Regions from separate parts of the Homo sapiens genome. Here regions 1, 3 and 4 are each linked to region 2. The links are contacts of gene promoters, found by promoter capture Hi-C in blood cells and fetal thymus (Javierre and others, 2016). All regions are on one chromosome and are shown on one strand. Each heading gives the region's core, a stretch centred on a gene start or on the middle of the fragment in contact. The rest is flanking DNA. Distances are from core to core; before and after follow the strand shown. Region 1 holds the start of HAT1 (histone acetyltransferase 1). Region 2 holds the start of ITGA6-AS1 (ITGA6 and PDK1 antisense RNA 1). Region 3 overlaps SLC25A12 (solute carrier family 25 member 12). Region 4 overlaps HAT1 (histone acetyltransferase 1).

Region 1 (3,232 bases), core at 714-3,213, 540 kb before region 2:
CACGCCATTCTCCTGCCTCAGCCTCCTGAGTAGCTGGGACTGCAGGCACCCGCTACCACGCCCGGCTACTTTTTTTGTATTTTTAGTAGAGACAGGGTTTCACCATGTTAGTCAGGATGGTCTGGATCTCCTGATCTCGTGATCCGCCCGCCTCGGCATCACAAAGTGCTGGGATTACAGGCGTGAGCCACCACGCCCGGCCTATGACTGTAATTTCTTGTGTATCATTAGGTTTCAAGAAAAAGGATCTTGAAACCTTTTCTTGGGATCACGACTGTAATCCCAGCACTTTTGGAGGCCGAGATGGGCAGATCATCTGAGGTTGGGAGTTCGAGATCAGCCTAACCAACATGGAGAAACCCCGTCTCTACAAAAATACAAAATTGCTGGGTGTGGTGGCGCATGCCTGTAATCCCAGCGACTCAGGAGGCTGAGGCAGAAGAATCGCTTGAACCCGGGAGGCGGAGGCTGTGGTGAGCTGAGATTGTGCCATTGCACTCCAGCCTGGGCAACAAGAGTGAAACTCCGTCTAAAAAAAAAAAAAAAAAAAAGAAAGAAAAAGGATCTGGGCATTCTCAGTACCTTTTCTGATCTTTATCTTCAGGAAAGCCATCTCTATATAGTTGAGCAAATAAATACTGGGCTGAGTATCTGATGAACTGCACTCTGCATAGGTTGCATACTGAGAATGAACTTGGGCAGTTTATCTTTTCTGGGCTTTGGTTTCCTCATCTCTAAAATGAGAGGGCGTGTTAGTTCTAGACCATCATCCCAAGGGTCCATTTTAGCTTTAGCGTGCATCACTGTAAAACCTGTTAACAAATATTTGTTGAGATAAGGAATTCTGGTGTATAGCCAACATTGTGGGAATATTTGTGGATACCTAAATAGTGGTTTATCCTCTGGGGAAAGCAGTTCCTACAGCTACTAAATACTAACAAGGCCTATGGCTAAAATCAGGTAGCACCTTGTGATGTAATTCAAACCACTAGGACATGTGGCATGCAAGACTACATCAGGCTACTTGAGGTATTTATTAGGTAACAATTTTTTTTTTTTTTTGAGACGGAGTCTCACTCTGTTGCCCAGGCTGGAGTGTAGTGGCGCAATCTCGGCTCACTGCAACTTTCGCCTCCAGGGTTCAAGCGATTCTCCTGCCTCAGCCTCCCGAGTAGCTGGGATTACAGGCGCCTGCCACCATGCCTGGCTAATTTTTGTATTTTTAGTAGAGACGGGGTTTCACTATGTTGGCTACACTGGTCTCGAACTCCTGAGCTCAGGCAATCTACCCGCCTCGGCCTCCCAAAGTGCTGGGATTATAGGCGTGAGCCACCGCGCCCGGCCTAGGTAACGATTTTTGCGCGCTAAACGGTTCTTAGTAACCTGCAGAGTGAAAGCAGAGTACCTAAATATCATACTGTATACGTTAAAAACAGGGGAGAAAGGAAAAAAGGTGTTAAAGTTTACAGCAAAATGAGAAACAAATGAGGAAAACAAGTGAAAGCTTCTCCCGCAACTGAAACTCAACCTCTACATTTTACCTAGGTAAAATGGTAAAATTGCCCACAGGGCTCAGGTGTTTGGATGCACTGTCCAGGCCAAGAGGAAAGATTTTCAGCCAGTCTCCAAAACATCTCAGGGACGGGTATGGAAAACAGGCGTAAAGTGTCTGTATTGATCAAATCAACCCCAGAGAAACTTTCCTAGGGCCAGAGAGCATCTCAACCGCGAAAGTCCGTTTGCGGCCTCCTTCTCCACTTCAGGCCTGCAAAGCGGCTGACGGCATTCGCAGTGGCTAGGCAACGGCCCGCGCAGACTTCTCGGCGTTAGCCCCGCCTCTTGAGGCGCTTCCGCCGCCGGGCTCCTGGACACGCCTCCTTTAATTGGCTAACGTCACGCTGGGAGTGGGCGGGGAAAATATGTCAGACTGTGCGGTCACTTCCGGCCCGGGAGCGCGCGGGTTGATTCGTCCTTCCTCAGCCGCGGGTGATCGTAGCTCGGAAATGGCGGGTAAGTTACCGGGAAAAGTTTACCAAGGGGAGGAGGCGGCCAGATCGGGGATAGAACGCCGAGACGGTGGTGACAATGCCCGCCTAGAACTTTCGGGCTGTAGCCTGGGTTCCAGAAGGCCTGCTTGGGACCGGAAGCGCGGAACTCTCAGCCCAGCAGCTCCTTGTTGGCGGCGGTCCGCGCCCCCGCCCCCAACTGCTTGGGGTTCTGCGCCTTCTGCCAGCAATCCGGCCCCTACCGAGGGCCGAAGACGCCAGGGAAAAGCGTCATGATTTGGGCTCGTAAAATGCCACATGCCTTGGGGCCTGTTTCTCTTCCCATTCCTTTTGTCCACTGCTGCTTGCTTCAGCTCTTGTACATCTGGTCCTGTTCCCGCCAGCTGATTTTAATGCTCAGATCCTCCTCCTCTTCCAGGTCTCCGTCTACCTTCCACTACAGTCAACTTCTGAGCTAGCGCATTGCTGCCTTGCCCTGCTCTGGCGCTCCCACTTGGATCTCGACTGACTTCGTAGTCGTCTCGTTAATCTGTCACACTTTAGTATTCCGAGGATCGTATTTAGATGCCCTTTGAGAAAGACTTTGTTCCTGAACTGCTCCCTTCTCTTTTAGGGTTGGACTACTATAATACAATTCTCTTGTGTACATTCTAGAGACCCTTCAAGTTACAACATTTAATAATGTATAATTGCTATTACTTTGTACGTGTATTAAGGCTGTTTTGGTGTGATTATTTTTTTCGATTACTTATCTTTTGAAGTTATGGACAGTTTCTTTTTCCTGAGACAGGGTCTCTCTGTCGCCCAGGCTGGAGTGCAGCGATCATAGTTCCGGGCAGCTTCCAACTCCTCGTAGGCTCAAGCGATCCTCTTGCCTCAGCCTCCCGAGTAGCTAGGACTACAGGCATGCGCCACAACATTCGGCTAAAAAAAAACAATTTTTTTTAACCTTTTAGAGACAGAGTCTGGCTGTATTGCCTCAGGCCGGTCTGGAACTCTTGGCCTCAAGCCATCCTCTCGCCTCAGCTTCCCAAAGTGTTGGAATGACAGGATTGAGCCACTTCGCTGGCCTTTGTTGCTTTTATCATCTCTTTACAGGGCATTCCTCATAGTCTCTCTACATTAACCATTCCATTTTTATGAATATGTGGGATAGACAAGCTGTTGTGTGAGCTCTACAGATGTTTAAAGAAGGACTTTTCTACCAGATGGAGATTGTAGGATCT
Region 2 (3,210 bases), core at 688-3,187:
GACTGTGACTGTCCAGGGATCTGGGAGGAAGGACAGTGCTGGGGCTATGTGTTATCCATGAGCCACCCCTCCTTCTCTGTCTGGGCATCATCTGGCCCCCCTCCCTGCTTTCCAGGTACACTTGCCTCCGGTGGCACCTGCTGCATGATATTGGTTTAAAAAAAATATGTTGAATCCTTTATTGGAATGATTCCTTTATTGGGACCCAACAGGCATGAAGGTAATAGAGACTATTTGGTTTGTATTTTCATTTGTTTTGCTTTTGCTTCTGAGATTTGTGGGTTTCTTGATGGCCAGGAGTGGCTTGTTTTCTGTTGTAAGAATTTGTTGTTTGTACAGGTTCGTGTTCCCAGTCCTTTTCCTCAGCTCCAGCCTTGTTTCCAAAACTCTCAGCTCTTGGTTTATCTCTGTCCAGTCAGGTGTGTGTTCTTTGTCTTTGTTTCTTGTCCTAGTTGTTCCATGAGTCAGCCAGGCCTCAAAGATTGTAAACCTGATGGTGAGTAAAGGTGTTAGCAAAAGAGACCTAGCAACAAGGTCATTGGATCTCTAAAGAGCCTGTCAAGCTGTGAGATGGTGAAATTTTAAGGACTGTGGATTTGGACTGGGGGCCTCCTTATAGGAGATAAAAACACTCGGCTGGGGAGAAGAAGGAATATTACAGTGCCTAGTACATAAGTGGAGCTACACCAGTTGTCCCTGAATCCTTTGTGGGAGACTGATAGGATGAGAGAGGACGAACTCTTGTAATGTGACAAAAGTGCAAGGAAGTAAGAACTGACTTGGAAGAACAAACATCAACTTGTACACCTCAAATATATCTGCTTTTTATTTGTCCATTCTACCCTAATAAAACTGGAGGGAAAAAAAAAAAAGAATTGGAAAGAGGCCAAGGCTGCAAGTGAATAATTCAGTCGAGTTGTATCTTACTTACCATTAGGTTCTCTCAATTAGTATATAAACTGAAAATCTAAGATATAGTCAGAATTACCCTTGAAAACTACCTCAGGAAGGCACAGTGTTAGAAACTGACATATTATTGCTTATTACATTTAGTGTGGCCATTTTTTCCTTCCATTGTCACAAGTATTTGGTTTCTTCTCTTGAGTTTCATATGATATCCCTGGCATCATAGGGGCTTAGAGGTTGTATTCTTTGAAGAGGGTGTCTTTTAAACACCAGATCATACCCAGCAAGAAATGCTGATACTATGAGAGACAGGCCTATTTTCCTCGTTTTGGTATCCCCTCTTTGGCTTCCCCTGTTTAGTTGTGTTTGTGCGTTTTGCATGAACCAGCCATAGGACTCTACATTTGTTCTCACTCACTGCCTAAGCTGTTGAAGAATTAGTGGACTCCTAGACAAAGAATAATCCCACTATCTCCTAGTTCTGACTGATTTAACTGTTAAACGTATATTAAATTCAAATCTCCAAATTGTCTCTGTTTCATCAACAGGTTGCTCGTGGGGGCCCCGCGGGCAGAAGCGCTTCCACTGCAGAGAGCCAACAGAACGGGAGGGCTGTACAGCTGCGACATCACCGCCCGGGGGCCATGCACGCGGATCGAGTTTGATAACGATGGTGCGTTCCTTTCCCTCACTCAGCGTTCACTCCGGCAGCTTGCCTGTACTGTTTCCATGAGGGAGGAGAGTGGGGACAAACATTTATTCTTGTAGAGAGGACTTCTTTTAATTGCATCAGACTTGACTGTTTTTTATTTGCCCTGAAAATATTTACTTACTTTACTTCTGAATCATACTGGGATGCCGCGTGTTTTGCTGCTCCTCCTAACCGTGGTTTCTAAACCGATATGGTGTAGGGATGTTGCCACCTAGTGATGTGTTGAGGTTCTGCAGGAGGTTGTGGAAAAACTCATTTCATAGCAATGAAGAGAATGAATGAGCGTATCTTGTATTCATCAGCCAAAAGTTCTCACATGCTGTTAAAATATTTGGGAGAAAGACAGTTTTAAATATCAGACCCCTTTGGAATGAGAGCTGGCTAACAGAGATAAAGTTTTCCCTCCTGTCTCAGATAGAGACTTGTTTTGTTAAGGGCTCTGGATAGGTAGAAGATACCATGAGGTAGGCATGTTGACATCCAGTGTACCTGGCTTCTTGTAGGTTGAGCAGAGCAATTAGTGTACTGAGAAGCTCTAGCCAAACCTCGTTTGATATGTTCGGTCTAAGTAGATTTGCAGATTCGTGTCTATGTTCTTCTCTTGCTTCTTCATCTTTTAGAAATAACATTTGTTGGCCAGGCGTCGGTGGCTCACACCTGTAATCCTAGCATTTTGGGAGGCCGAGTTGGGTGGATCATTTGAGGTCAGGAGTTCAAGACCAGCCTGGCCAACATGGTGAAACCCCATCTCTACTAAAAATACAAAAATTAGCCAGGCGTGGTGGTGTACGCCTGTAGTCCTAGCTACTTAGGAGGCTGAGGCGTGAGAATTGTTTGAACCTGGGAGGCAGAGGCTGCAGTGAGCCAAAATCGTGCCACTACACTCCAGCCTGGGTGACAGAGCAAGATACCATCTCAAGAAAAGAAATAACATGTGTTCTTTTATTAGAAACTAATATGTGTTAATTTTAAGAAGCTGGTAAAATACACAGACCTATGAAGAATAAAAAAACCCACTGGCAATCTCAGTATCTAGACTTATTTTTTAACATTTTGGCATTTTTCCTTCTGTCTAAAGTTGTTTAATGTTTTTGTAATGATTCAAGATTAAAACCTGTGTCTGTATTGCTACTTATGGAGGAGTGCAAAATTTGGATATAGGTCACACAGTGGGTTTAAATTGATACTGAAATGAGCACCTGGTGGTGTTTGTGGTCCCCGTCTCTCTGACTAACAGTAACTCTCCTGTTTGGCATTGATACATTGTCAGCTACAAGATCCTAAAGTAAATCTGAGTCTTTTTCTTCCATCTCCAGTAAAGAAGAGAACATTTAATGCTGTTAAATAAAAAAATTGGGGAGTATATAGAGAAGTACCCATTTTTTTTGTTAGTTTGGATGGTAGCTGCAGTTTGGAATACTAGATTTTACATTGTTGCCTTAAGAGATGTATTTTGGAGGGCTCCCTTAGTCTTACAGTTTCACTTACCTTCTGCATTCAGGACCCTAGGTATCAAGAGAGGGCAAAGGGTATTGTTGGACAAAATAGGCAACTATATAGAGCTAAGTACTTTATGTTTCAAATGTTTGAAA
Region 3 (3,156 bases), core at 345-2,844, 580 kb before region 2:
CTTATATGCTATACATAAACAGTTCTTGGTTTTAATGTGCCTAGCTTTCCTTCCCCCCTTCTGGTAACTGCATGCTAATTTTTCTTGAACATACACACCTCCCTCACCCTCAATTTACACAGGTCATTCAAATGGGGCTGACTCAACTGAACAGTTCCAGAGGTGAGCATGTGAACCAGATCTGGCCAATGAGAACACTGCCTCCTTCTAGTACATGGGTTTTCTTGGGGTATTAGGGAGGACAATAATTCCTAGACTTAACCTAGAAATTGGAGAAACAGTACCTTTTCTCTGCTGAATGGGTAGGATTTTAATCTGGGGATGCTCCACATGGCAAAGCCTGTTTGAGAATGAAGCTAGCACAACAGAAACCAAAACTAAGAGATGAAAGGTGCATGATCCCTGGTGACAGCAGTTAAGCTCCTGATCCACTCATGGCTAGAGCCAGTACATTCTAAGCCTACGCATGTTTAACCAAAATTCCTGTCACTGAAGACTGAAATAGTACTGACTAATATTTTCAAAATGTGTGTTTCTTCCAGTTCTAGAAACCCAACGCTGGCCATAGCAATGGTTTCAGTGGAAGATGCTTTCAGAAATTTCCACAGTACTAAGTAAGAGAAATCTGCACAGAACAGGGAGGTGGTGATTTTAAAAAAGAAAGTTACGCACAAAAAAAAAATATGTATTTTTTCAAGTCTGTGTCTTGGGATTTCAGAGCCTATGGCTGGACCGTTATTCTTTTACACGTCCAGACTGAGCGAATGAAGTTTCAGAAGAAAACTCTGCAAACATCTTCCATGGTCTCTCGGGTCTCCCAGCCTTAGACTGTGACTATACAACATCTTAGAACCTCATAGACTTGAGAGAAATCGGTATTTGTCAATAACTTCAGATGGATGTCTCAAGAATGTAAGTAATTAACTGATTATATGTACATAATCATAAATACATATTAACATCTTAGTCTCTTGACTAGGTCCAGCATAGTCATCTGGAGAAGACAAGGGACTCAGATCTTATTCAAGAAACAAACAAAACATCCTAATCTCAACTTAGAAGAGAAGGAAAGAGACAAGGAACTAAGCTTTATTTGGTTCTGCATAGTTTACATGTTATTTTATTTAATCTTTAGAACATCCCTATGTGCTAGGTGTCATTATCCCTTCTTAGACAGATGAGAAAACAGGCTCCAAAAGTAAACACCTGAGCTCAAAAGGTTTCAAATGAGGATTCAAACCCAGGTTAGACTACAAATCCCATGTAGGCTCCAGGTACACTCTGCTGCCCTCTGGATGAAAAGGAGTTTCATCCAGCTCAAGATGTTCTAGGAACTCTATAGACAGGAGGACATTAAATTGAAAGAATCGGCCAGGCGTAGTGGCTCACGCCTGTAATCCCAGTACTTTGGGAGGCCATTTACCCCCATACTTAATTACCAATGCTTCAGGCACACTGGCCTTTCTGTTTGTTGAACACATCAAACCCTTTTCTATATCTAAGCTTTGTACGTGTGAGCCCTTTGGAATTCCCTCCACCACTTCACCCTCATTCCCTTTTAGTTCTCAGCTCTTAATATTGCCTCCTAAGGGCCCTTCACTGACCACTCTCTTGAAAAATGATTTAAAAAATGATGGCCCTTCTCATTATTCTGTTTACTTCCTTGGACGTGTCACAATCTGTAGTAAGCTTTTTTTTGTTTGTTTTGTTTTTTGTTTTGTTTTAAGAGACAGGGTCTTACTCTATCACCCAGGCTGGAGTGCAGTAGCATGACCCTAGCTCACTGTAACCTCAGACTCCTGGGCTCACATGATCTTCCTTCCTCAGCCTTCCTAGTAGCTAGGACTACAAGCACAGGCCACCATGCCTGGCTAATTTCTTTTCTTTTTTATCTTTTTTTTTTTTTTTGTAGAGACAGAATCTCACTTTTTTGGCCAGGCTGGTCTCAAACTAGTGGCCTCAAGTGATCCTCCTGCTTCAGCCTCCCAAAGAGGTGGGATTACAGGAATGAGCCAGTGTGCCCAGCCAATCTGTGGGCTTTTTTTTTTTTCCCCCCGAGACTGAGTCTTCCTCTGTCGCCCAGGCTGGAGTGCAATGACACGATCTCGGCTCACTGCAACCTCTGCCTCCTGGGTTCAAGCAATTCTCCCACCTCAGCCTCCCAAGTAGCTGGGATTACAGGCGCCCGCCACCACGCCTGGCTAATTTTTGTATTTTTAGTAGAGACGGGGTTTCACCTTGTTGTCCAGGCTGGTCTCGAACTCCTGACCTCGTGGTCTGCTCTGTGGGCTTTTTTAATTGTCCACCTCGCCCCTAGAATGTTAGGTTCTAGGCTGGGCACGGATGGTGGCTCTCATCTGTAATCCCAGCACTTTGGGAGGCCGAGGCAGGTACATCACCTGAGGTCAGGAGTTCGAGACCAGCCTGGCCAACATGATGATACCCCCATCTCTACTAAAAATACAAAAAAAATTTAGCCAGGTGTGGTGGTGCACATCTGTAATCCCAGCTACTCAGGAGGCTGAGGCAGGAGAATTGCTTGAACCTGGGATGCAGTGGTTGCAGTGAGCTGAGACTGCGCCATTGCACTCCAGCCTGGGCAACAAGAGCAAAACTCTGTCCCCCACCAAAAAAAAAAAAGAATGTGAGGTTCTACCTTCACTGAGGTCCTTTGTATTGTCCCTACCCTCACTAAACAGCTCTATCTTATCTCTATAAAGGTAGAACCTAGTACAGTGCTTAGCCTGGTACATAGTAGGCAATTAAAAGTGTATTGATCGGCCAGGTGCGGTGGCTCACGCCTATAATCCCAGCACTTTGGGAGGCCGAGGAGGGTGGATCACAAAGTCAGGAGACTGAGACCATCCTGGCTAACACGGTGAAACCCTGTCTCTACTAAAAATACAAAAAATTAGCTGGGCGTGGTGGCGGGCGCCTGTAGTCCCAGCTACTCGGGAGGCTGAGGCAGGAGAATGGCGTGAACCTGGGAGGCGGAGCTTGCAGTGAGCCCAGAGACTCCGTCTCAAAAAAAAAAAAAAAGTGTATTGATTGGTAGTAGAACATCACATGGCATTTAATAACACTAATTTTCTTATCTTTTTATTATTTTTCAATCCTTCTGCTTGATTCAAGGACAAAGTCTCACTATCCTGCTAG
Region 4 (3,177 bases), core at 587-3,086, 520 kb before region 2:
AGACCCCCATCTGTACAAAAAATTTAAAAAATTAGTTGTTCATGGTGATTTGCGCTTGTAGTCTCAGCTACTTTAAAGGCTGAGGCGGGAAGATCTTTTGAGCCCAGGATTTCAAGGTTGCTGTGAGCTGTGATTGTGCCACTGTATTCCAGCCTGGGTGACAATGAAACCCTGTCTCAAAAAAAAAAAAAAATACTTAAACAAGGATCCAGTAAGGGATTGTGCACTGCATTTAGTTGTAATGTTTCTTAAATAATCTCTTTTAATACAGAGCAGTCCCTTTCCGTCCACATGCAACTTTTCCCCTACATGACATTGATTTATTTGGGAGAGTAAAGTCATTGCACAGATAAATGTACATTCTGGATTTGTGTATTTCCTTTTGATATTAGTTTAACTTCCTCCTCTATCCTCTGTATTTCCTGTGAATTGGAAGGTAAAAAGCTTGATTAGATTTAAGATAAAAATTTTTGGTGAGAAAACTTCATGGGTGATGCAGCATACAGTTGGTCCTTGAACAACACGACTTGAACTGTGTGGGTCCACTTACACATGGACTTTTTTTCCTACCAAATGCAGATAGAAAGTACAGTGGGACACCAGACAGAACTACAGGACTTGAGTATGATGGATTTTGGTACAGTCAGGGGTCCTAGAGCCAGTCTCTTGAGTATACTGAGGGATGACTGTACTTCATATTGCATTGAATCAGGAGGCACATAATGTTGTTCTGTCCCACAATGAATGATGCTAAGTTAGATCATTTGGAAAGGAGGTGACTACCAGATCTCTACAGTGAAAATATACCTTTTCTTCTGTAAATTAGTAATATGCTGGTGATACTTTGGCATGCAGGGAGTGACCTGGTCTGTGAGGACAGTGTTAGAAATTTTTCATCTACAGTTTATCTTCTTTTTTCCCCCTGAGACGGAGTCTCGCTCGATCACCCAGGCTGGAGCGCAGTGGCACAATCTCAGCTCAATGCAACCTCCTCCTCCCAGGTTCAAGCGATTCTCATGCCTCAGCCTCCAGAGTAGTTGGGATTATAGGGACCTACCACCATGCCTGGCTAATTTTTGTATTTTAGTAGAGATGGCATTTCACCATATTGGTTAGGCTGGTCTTGAACTCCTGACTTCAAGTGATCTGCCTGCCTCAGCCTCCCAAAGTGCTGGGATTACAGGTGTGAGCCACCGCGCCCAGCCCTCCAATTTTTCTTTACATTCTTCAATTGCTTAAGAATTTTTTAATGAATAAAATTTTCTTCCTAAGATAAATTTTATCAGGGAACTATCTAGTATTTCAGTACTCACAACAAATACAAATAAAAATAATAAAAGGATACCCATTCCATCTTAGATTGATAGAAATTGAAGTCGAGGGTACAGAGTATCCTTGAGTACAGCAGAGTGTTCTCAAGGATGTAGGGAGCAAAGGAGTCTACAAGCTATGGGTATATAAACTGCTTGTGGGTGTATAAACTGTTACAATATTTTTATAGGGCACTTTAGCTAGCTAGCTAGCTATCTATAATTTTTTTTTTTTTTTTTTTGAGACAGTCTTTGTCGCCCAGGCTGGAGTGCAGTGGCATGATCTTGGCTCACTGCAACCTCTACCTCCTGGATTTAAGCGATTCTCCTGCCTCAGCCCTCTAAGTAGCTGGGACTACAGGCATGCGCCACCATGGCTAGCCAATTATTTATTTATTTATTTATTTTTTTGAGAGAGAGTCTCGCTCTCTTGGCCAGGCTGCAGTGCAGTGGCACGATCTCGGCTCACTGCAACCTCCGCCTCCTGGGCTCAAGTAGTTCTCCTGCCTCAGCCTCCCAAGTAGCTGGGATTACAGGTTGTGTGCCACCATGCCCGGCTAATTTTTGTATTTTTAGTAGAGATGGGGTTTCACCATGTTGGCCAGGCTGGTCTTGAACTCCTGACCTCAGGTAATCTGCCCACCTCAGCCTCCCAGAGTGTTGGGATTACAGGCATGAGCCACTGTGCCCAGCCTAATTTTTGAATTTTTAGTAGAGATGGTTTCACCATGTCAGCCAGGCTGGGCGTGAACTCCTGACCTCAGATGATCCACCTGCCTTGGCCTCCCAAAGTGCTGGGATTACAGGCATGAGCCACTGCACCTGGCCACTTTAGCAATATTTATACAAATATTTCAGTACTCTCCCCCTAGTTTTCTGCTGCCAGGAATTTCCCCTGTGTATACTTATAAAAGTACAGCAGGATGTATATAAGGATGTCATTGCAGTGTTATTTTTAATAGCAAAAAACAAACATGAGAACAACATAAATGTCATCTAGCAGTCAAAAAGAATGACTTCATCAAACTCAGGTTATTGTTATTATCAGAATGTTTCTTACAGCATTCTGTTTTCATTTGCTGTAACTTCTTACCTCAAAGTGTCTTTTTGTTTTTCCTTTACTCATTGCATTGTGCATAAACATGGAAAAATAAAAACTAAATGAGGTGCCTCTGTCATACTTAGCCTTCTGATTCTTAGAATAAGTAGGGTTTTGACGCTGAAGCACTCAAAGTAATATTTTAATTTTCTTTGTTCACTAGTCTCTTGAGAATACAGTGTAAATAAATCATATAATGGTGAAATGACACTTTTAGTAAGAAAAATGTTGGCTGTATCCTAGTTATACTGAAACTCATGAAATAGGAATACCTGTCACCTTCAATATCTTTAGTTATCTTTAATATCTCTATTTTTTTGTCCCTTGAAACAGTTCGTTTTCCTGAAGATCTTGAAAATGACATTAGAACTTTCTTTCCTGAGTATACCCATCAACTCTTTGGGGATGAGTAAGTAACTTAGTAAAATATTTGTCAAATTAGTATGGAAAAAAAAATTTTCATTCTTTTTCTTTTAGATTTAGAAATCAAATTTTATTTTCTTCTTATTTTTAATGTGGTTTATCTTAAAATATATGTTATAATGGTGTTTTTTTACATTGAGACACCAGTTATTTTAATACCTACCATTTAGTGCTGTAAATGCATTATTTAATTCTCACAGCAGTATTAATGATGGTATTATTATTTGCTGCTTTGTGCATTGATAGAATTGGATAATTGTTCATGAACATACAAATGGCTGGAGTATAGATTTTAGGCAATCTGACTCCAGAGCCCATAATCATAACTACTACTTTTTTCTGCTA

The links. Contacts are between HindIII fragments. The CHiCAGO score rates a contact against its expected background, and 5 or more counts as called.
Region 1: a contact is called between the fragment with the promoter of HAT1 here and the fragment with the promoter of ITGA6-AS1 in region 2, in 2 of 17 cell types (naive CD4 T cells and total CD8 T cells). The highest score is 6.2, in naive CD4 T cells.
Region 3: a contact is called between a fragment that was not itself captured here and the fragment with the promoter of ITGA6-AS1 in region 2, in 1 of 17 cell types (activated CD4 T cells). The highest score is 6.5, in activated CD4 T cells.
Region 4: a fragment that was not itself captured here is called in contact with the fragment with the promoter of ITGA6-AS1 in region 2 in 1 of 17 cell types (total CD8 T cells); the score reaches 5.0 in total CD8 T cells.

Annotation. Positions count from the first base shown.
Region 1 is chr2:171,920,498-171,923,729 of GRCh38, forward strand. HAT1 (histone acetyltransferase 1) reads left to right here and starts at 1,964. Exons shown (of 11, transcript NM_003642.4): 1 at 1,964-2,010. The coding sequence starts at 2,004. It overlaps LOC105373740 (a long non-coding RNA gene), which reads right to left and starts at 1,892. Exons shown (of 3, transcript XR_923579.2): 1 at 1,542-1,892; 2 at 583-734. RefSeq lists enhancers at 1,400-2,048, 2,189-2,238. The HindIII fragment of the contact is 14,743 bases long and covers 1,503-3,232 here.
Region 2 is chr2:172,464,085-172,467,294 of GRCh38, forward strand. ITGA6-AS1 (ITGA6 and PDK1 antisense RNA 1) reads right to left here and starts at 1,938. Exons shown (of 2, transcript NR_157573.1): 1 at 1,740-1,938; 2 at 178-490. It overlaps ITGA6 (integrin subunit alpha 6), which reads left to right. Exons shown (of 26, transcript NM_000210.4): 2 at 1,455-1,579. PDK1-AS1 (PDK1 and ITGA6 antisense RNA 1) reads right to left here. Exons shown (of 4, transcript NR_199657.1): 4 at 182-490. RefSeq lists an enhancer at 2,179-2,348. The HindIII fragment of the contact is 13,641 bases long and covers 1-3,210 here.
Region 3 is chr2:171,882,153-171,885,308 of GRCh38, forward strand. All of the region lies in intron 2 of SLC25A12 (solute carrier family 25 member 12), which reads right to left. Among named protein-coding and RNA genes, the nearest start is that of SLC25A12, 11 kb to the right of the region's middle. The HindIII fragment of the contact is 186 bases long and covers 1,502-1,687 here.
Region 4 is chr2:171,943,966-171,947,142 of GRCh38, forward strand. It overlaps HAT1 (histone acetyltransferase 1), which reads left to right. Exons shown (of 11, transcript NM_003642.4): 3 at 2,743-2,818. Among named protein-coding and RNA genes, the nearest start is that of HAT1, 23 kb to the left of the region's middle. The HindIII fragment of the contact is 2,789 bases long and covers 443-3,177 here.